Regions from separate parts of the Homo sapiens genome. Here region 2 is linked to region 1. Evidence: promoter capture Hi-C in 16 types of primary human blood cells and fetal thymus (Javierre and others, 2016). All regions are on one chromosome and are shown on one strand. Each heading gives the region's core, a stretch centred on a gene start or on the middle of the fragment in contact. The rest is flanking DNA. Distances are from core to core; before and after follow the strand shown. Region 1 holds the start of FAR2 (fatty acyl-CoA reductase 2). Region 2 holds the start of FLJ13224 (a long non-coding RNA gene).

Region 1 (3,004 bases), core at 334-2,833:
ATAGATAATTATAGCCCAATGTTAGAAATAGGAGTAAGTGAGGAATTTGTTAATACAGCAGGGGCAGAAGCAGCCCTCAGAATTAGGAAAAGAGTACTGTAAAGACGTGGATCCTGAGAAATACTACCGATGAAATATTGACACACGCGTCGGCCTGGTAAAAACCTCATGCCCATCTCCTAGAAGTCTCACACACAAATATCCCTTCTGCGGAAATGCCTGCTCTTGCAGTTTAGGTGGCTGCCTTAAGTTTTTATTTAGTCCCTTGCCCCCCTTTCTAAATTTTGGACTAACTACACCTGTCAGTCAAATCTCCAGCTCTTATAAATGGGAATATACAGAGATGGGTAATTGAAACCACGGGGTAATTCTCAAATTTCCATTTGCCCAGTGTCAAATTTCTCTCAACCTAGCAAACAGAAAAGCACGATCTACCTGAATTCCCTGGTCACTTTTCTGACCCTACTCTGTCCTTGCTCATCACATAATGGGGGCACTTTACGTGATTCAACGAGTGGCCAAACTCTTGCAGATCCAGCGATAACCTTGGTTGCTCACACCACATAACTCAACCGTGGAAGAAATGGTGCCACCGCTGGCAGGTGAGACGCCTTCCTCTGGTTTGTAGGATACGATTGGGCATGAATTGTTTTAATAGACTGAGACTGCCCCGCGGGTAATTCTACTTGCTAGGAGTGTTGAGCAGCCTTCCTGCAAGCCATCTACTCCAGTTGGGAGTCTGCTGGCACCTGCTCCCCTGCACACCCCCAGGATGCCCAGGCCGCAGGAAGATGTCTAAAACTTCCTACAGGGGCAAAGCCCGCCCTGGCCTCACCAGTCGCCCCAGCGCGCGTCAGCCACGACCCCGGCGAGGCCCAGGTGGGAGGGTAGGGACGTGCGCAGCCTGGGGTGGGGCTGGGGGCTGGCGAGGACCTGCTCCGGGGACCAGGACTGGGCGCCCTGGCGGTCCCAGGCACCGGGAGGGGACCTAGGACCGCTGCCGTTTCACACGTGGCCCCGGCATTTTCGCGCTCTCTCCAGGAATAGCCCCAAGGGCCCAGGAGGCCTGGGTGGGACTCGGCCCCGCGCCTCTCTTCCCGGGTCCCCAGTCCCCAAGGCGCGGCCCCCCACATTAACCTTGCTGGGTCCTTCCCGGCTTTCTGCCCTTTGCAACCCCCGCGCGCCCCACCTTGGCGGGCTCCGCCGACGCCAACCGCGCGTAAACGGCCGGTGACGATTGGGGTGCAGCCGGGGGCAGCTTCAGGGGGCAGAGCCTCCGCAAATGCTTCTCTCCTCCCACCCGGCCTCACACCCACCCTCCTCGAGGTCCCGCCGGGAACCGCCCCGCCCTGCGAACCCAGCCGAGCCCTCCCTCCTGGGCCACCCCCAGTCCGGTCTCTGCTTTTGGAGCGCGTGGGCTCTGCGAGCGCCAGGGCTGGGGACCCTGGAATACCTGTTCCTCCAGCACGAGGATGGGGTCCAACTAGTGGTCCTCTAAATCCTGCTCCTTCCCCGAGGCTACGGGAAGCGCTCCAGCCACAAGGAAACGGCTCCAGTCTTTCGGCTCCCAAACGTGACACTCTATATATCCGGCTCGGAGACTGGGTGTGGGGCGGGAGGAAACCACCCTCCCTCCGACCTTCCCCGGCTCCGCCGCTGCCTCGGCACTGGGCGCGAAACCGGCGGCAGCCTCAGCCCGGGGCGGGAGGAGGGTGAGGGGCCAGCGAAGGCCCTACAGGTCGCGGGGGCGACAGCATCGTGGGCAGGGCGGCCGCGCGCGCAGGCCCGCCCCGCGCTTCCATTCGTTCAGCACCAGCGGATCCACTGGCTATGACTCCCGCATTTGTGTGGTTTGGGGGAGGGGAGTTGGTTTTGGTTTCGGTGGGTTTGGTTTGTTTGTTTGTTTGGGGCTTTTGTTTTGTTTTGTTTTGGGTTTTGGGGTTGGTTTTTTTCTCCATTTTTTAATCAGTGGGCGAGGGGACAAGGAAGCTAGAAAGGCGCCCCTCTCTGGTGTGGGAAAGGAGAACTCCCACACCGTGAAAGGTGGCGGGGTAGGGGGGTGGAGGGAGAGACCGAGACAGGAGAGAGATTCAAAGGTTCTAGTCTGAACTGAACGCTTGGGGGACATACCTTTCCCCACCCACCCTAGCAGAAAAGGCAGCCAAAAATCCCAGTTTACTCAGCTTGACTACACTGCACATCCCGTGGGAGGGATGCTCTTGTATCTGCTAAAGACATTGCGGAGGCGCCCTGCAGTGACCCACGAACGCAGTGGCTTTTTAAAACCCAAGGGCGTGAGGGTGGAGGGTGATGCGAGGACTTCAGGTGAGGCTTCCTCACACTCGGGGTTTGAAGGGCAGAAATCCGGCTCTGCCTGCCTATGGTGGGGTGGGGGTGGGTAGGAGACTAGAAAGGATCAGAGATGGGGGCCGCAGAAACAGCAGTGAGCCAGCTGTGCTCAGCAGCACTTCTCCGGACTTAAAAGAAAAAAAGATGTTTCATTTCTTAGCCTGGTAGCTTTTTTGGGATTTGGTCATTGTTAAATTTTAAACGGAAAAACAAGCTGCCAGGGAAGCCTTGTAGAGGGATGGACAGGCACGTGAGTGGAGCCCTTGGCCTCAACCAGGAAGTGCTGAAAAACGGCCAACGCCCATCCTAATTCCCTGGACAATGTAGGAGGTAAATTTCCAAATAAATATGGTGTGTTAAGAAAAATAGAAAAGAAATATTGTCCTATAAGCTGTTCTGATTCTCCTCATTATAACAATCCACATGCAATTAAAGAAATAAAATTTGACTTTTGAAAGTTAGAATTAAGGAGTGATTTCATGAAATTAAAATAATAACACCCATCTTGAATTCTCTACTACTGGGCTCTTTAATGAAATGTGTTAAGCTAAGTGTAGCCTAAAGGCACTGACTAATTTCCTCTGGTGACCGCCTGAATGCAAGAGACAGAAAAAAAGTTACAACCAAATTTATAGTATTTTTCGTTACCCCTCCC
Region 2 (3,004 bases), core at 236-2,735, 2.2 Mb before region 1:
GAGGGTATTTGAGGCAAACCGAAAGTCTCGGGGCGGGGAAGTGAGTGGAGCCTGGGCATAATTGAGGAGTCGCCGGAGTTGAGGGATCCACGTTGAAGGTGACAATGACTTTTCTCCGCCGCAGTGTTCTCTCGCGGAAAGGAGCCCGGCGGCCGAAAGGCCCGAGAGGAAAGCGACTCGTTGGCCACCGCGCAGCGGCCGGGGTCGGTGCGTCCGCGTGGGCGCGAGGCGCGGGCAGGGTCGGGCGCCGTTGTGAAACCTCGTGGTTTAGTTGACTGCAGCCCTCGGACTAGGGTGGACAATAAACGCCATTCGCTCGGAAACTAAGTTGCCATCCGCTTCCGAGCTGGCGGCCGAGGGTCTTTAAATCGGCCTTTGGGGGTCAGTGCTGGGCTCTGCCGGAGCGCACGCGGCGTGGCGTTGTTTGCTCAACTCCGGAGGGATGCGGATGCGACAATGAGAGCAACACGCGGTCGCTTAAAAACAGCCCGTCTTCCACTCGCCTGCCCTCTTCGGACCGCGCCCAAGAGCCTCTGGTGTCCGGGGTGCTTTCGGAGCCCGAAGTTTTGCTCCCGGTGCGTTCACCTGTAGCGTAGGTGTGGGCGACACCGCGAGGGCTTCCCGTTTATGGGCGGCCGTCCGCGCTGTAAGATGGCCAGGGAAGCCAACTTGGCTGGAGATGGAGGCGGCGGCGTTGTGTACGCCGCGGGAGTCAGTGAACTCCGCAGGGCACTGCTTTTTGTGCTCTACGTGACAGACCACGTGCTTCGGGCTGCGACCCTGGTCCTTGTCCGAATGTCCAGCCCCGCGTGAGCCGTGGGATGCGGCCGCCGTCGGGCAGGTCCGGCCGGCAGGACAATGTGGTTTGCTGATGATGGCGTCTTGCCAGTTTAAAAAGCAGAGTGAAAGTCGCCAACTCTCCGCCCGTGCGGGGCGGATACTCCGGGCGTTTCTCATCAAGGACACTGCAAAACTTTGATTAAATGGGCCTGCTCCCGAGGGGAGGGTCGGGGGGCCAGGCTCCGGACTCTTCGGGGCGCGGGGTCCGGACCCCTACCCAGGGTGATCGTCCAGTGTCCGGCCCCTGCGAAACGCTCCGACATCCCTGATGCTGCACGTAGGCAGCGCCCGGCTGGACAGAAAACAAAGGGCTGCATGTGCCCGTGCGGGCCCCCGGCGCTCGGGGCCGCCGCCTGGGCGTAGGGCCGTGCAGGTCGGAGGCCCTCGAAGTTCGGGCGAGTTTCGGGAGGGGCTTTTGTCCCTCAGCCCCCTCGTGGGGAAACTTTGGCGGCGCTACTTGTGCGAGGTGCCATGCTGGTGCGTAGGGAGGCGGCGTGCTTCCCCGCTCCGGGCGTGCGGGCGGGCGACCGAGGGAGGCGGCAGTGCCCGGCGCTTCAGCCCTGGCGTCGGGGGTTGCGACGGCCGAGGGTTCCGGGGAGCTTGGCCCGGACTGCTCGGCCGGTTTCTCGTGGCCCGGGAGCCTGTGTCTGGGAGGTCTGTGGGTTCGCCTTTGAAGTCGAACTGTTGCCATGTTTGAATTACGTCAGGGCAAAGCCATGAGGAGGAACAAGCCCCGGCAGCGCGGCGTGCGGGAGGCGCGGCCTGCGGGAGGCGCCGGGCCGGGCTGGCGCGGGGCCCGTTGTTCCGGCGCAGGTGAGGGAGGTGGCGGCGAGCGACGCGGTTCACCTCCCGCTGCCCTCGCCCTCGCCCCGGCGAGCGGCCCCCGCAGGAACTTTCCTCCCGACGCGAGATGTCTTATTTACCAACAAATCCACCAGGGAGCATTCTTACTTGCTGGCTCGGCGTCTCTCTCGGCAGTCACCGGAGTGCCCGAGGGGGAAGCACGATTTACGGAAGGTGGGGACCCGAGGGCCCTGGGAGGAGCGGGGAGGCATTTTACTGCTTTCAGAGAAACGGGTGAGGGCGGCGAGCACCTCCTCCCCAGCCGAGCTGTGGCCCGCAAGTCCAGGGGACCCAGCCCCGACGACGCCCGATAAACCACCGTGGGGAAGTTCCGGGGCTCCCTGTTGCCCTACTAAGGGAAGTGAGGACTGTGGGCGAATTGTGCGTGCGGCCAGTTTCTTTGTGTGTTTCTAGGGGGTGGGGGGAGCGGGGAAGGGCAAGGTTTGTTTTGGTGTAGGGGGAGTTGGTTTCTTGAGGTGGTAGGGCGGTGCAGTTTGTTCTGGTAACTATGACCCTAGTCAGTTTCTTTGTTTTTATTTTCTTCCTGTAACCTTCCATTACTTCAGGCACTCGGAAGATTAGGATTTACTCTTGAGTTAAACAGGGACCCTATCCGAGACAGTTTTACCCCAGCAATTCTTTCTCCCCCTTCTTAAGTTGTCCTAAGGAGGGTTAAGAAAAGCTTTTCTTTTTCTTTTAATAATTTAAAAATGAATTTGACCTTGTTATTCAGAGTACGCTGAAAGCACCTGTTTTTGAACTGGAATTTGCCAGACTTGAAAAGCCTTTTAAAATTTTATGTCGCAAAATTGAACACATTTAGTTGCCCAATCTAAAAGTCTGGGAGTTTGTTTCTGGTGGAGTTTCGGAGAAAACCCTCATGGCATTTAAAGTATTTATATAATGATTTTGGGAAGGGGGATCTTTTTTAGGCGAAAGGTATGCGTGACTCAGTGTTTGGTGGTTATTCAGTGCCTTAGGATGACCTTGAAGAAGCAAATGTTTAGGGAGTTGGGCCTTTTGGAAACATTGTAAGGAGGCTGGGGAGCTGGCTGGGGAGGAAGCTGCTCAGGAAGATGACACAGGGTAACGGCTAGCTTCTTCCCAGATCCCGTGAACTGTGGTTGACCTTCTGGTTACCTCTCCTAGATTTTTCTTTTCAAGCTAACCTTTTCTTTTTTTGTATGTGGCCCCAGGCATAGCTCAAAAATTATGCTGGTTTGACACATGGATGCTTCTTTGGTATTTGGGGTTTGCCTGTAGTCTAGACATCCGATACCCACCACCATATCTGTTGCTTCTTTCCTGATTTCTCCTGCAT

What was found. The method cuts DNA at HindIII sites, captures the fragments that hold promoters and counts their contacts. A CHiCAGO score of 5 or more calls a contact.
Region 2: the fragment with the promoter of FLJ13224 here is called in contact with the fragment with the promoter of FAR2 in region 1 in 1 of 17 cell types (M0 macrophages); the score reaches 7.0 in M0 macrophages.

The regions. Positions count from the first base shown.
Region 1 is chr12:29,147,857-29,150,860 of GRCh38, reverse strand. It overlaps FAR2 (fatty acyl-CoA reductase 2), which reads right to left and starts at 1,583. Exons shown (of 12, transcript NM_001271783.2): 1 at 1,454-1,583. RefSeq lists silencers at 1,216-1,365, 1,676-1,735. The HindIII fragment of the contact is 9,301 bases long and covers 1-3,004 here.
Region 2 is chr12:31,322,797-31,325,800 of GRCh38, reverse strand. It overlaps FLJ13224 (a long non-coding RNA gene), which reads right to left and starts at 1,485. Exons shown (of 1, transcript NR_026806.1): 1 at 1-1,485. All of the region lies in intron 1 of SINHCAF (SIN3-HDAC complex associated factor), which reads left to right. RefSeq lists an enhancer at 1-562. The HindIII fragment of the contact is 3,270 bases long and covers 1-2,367 here.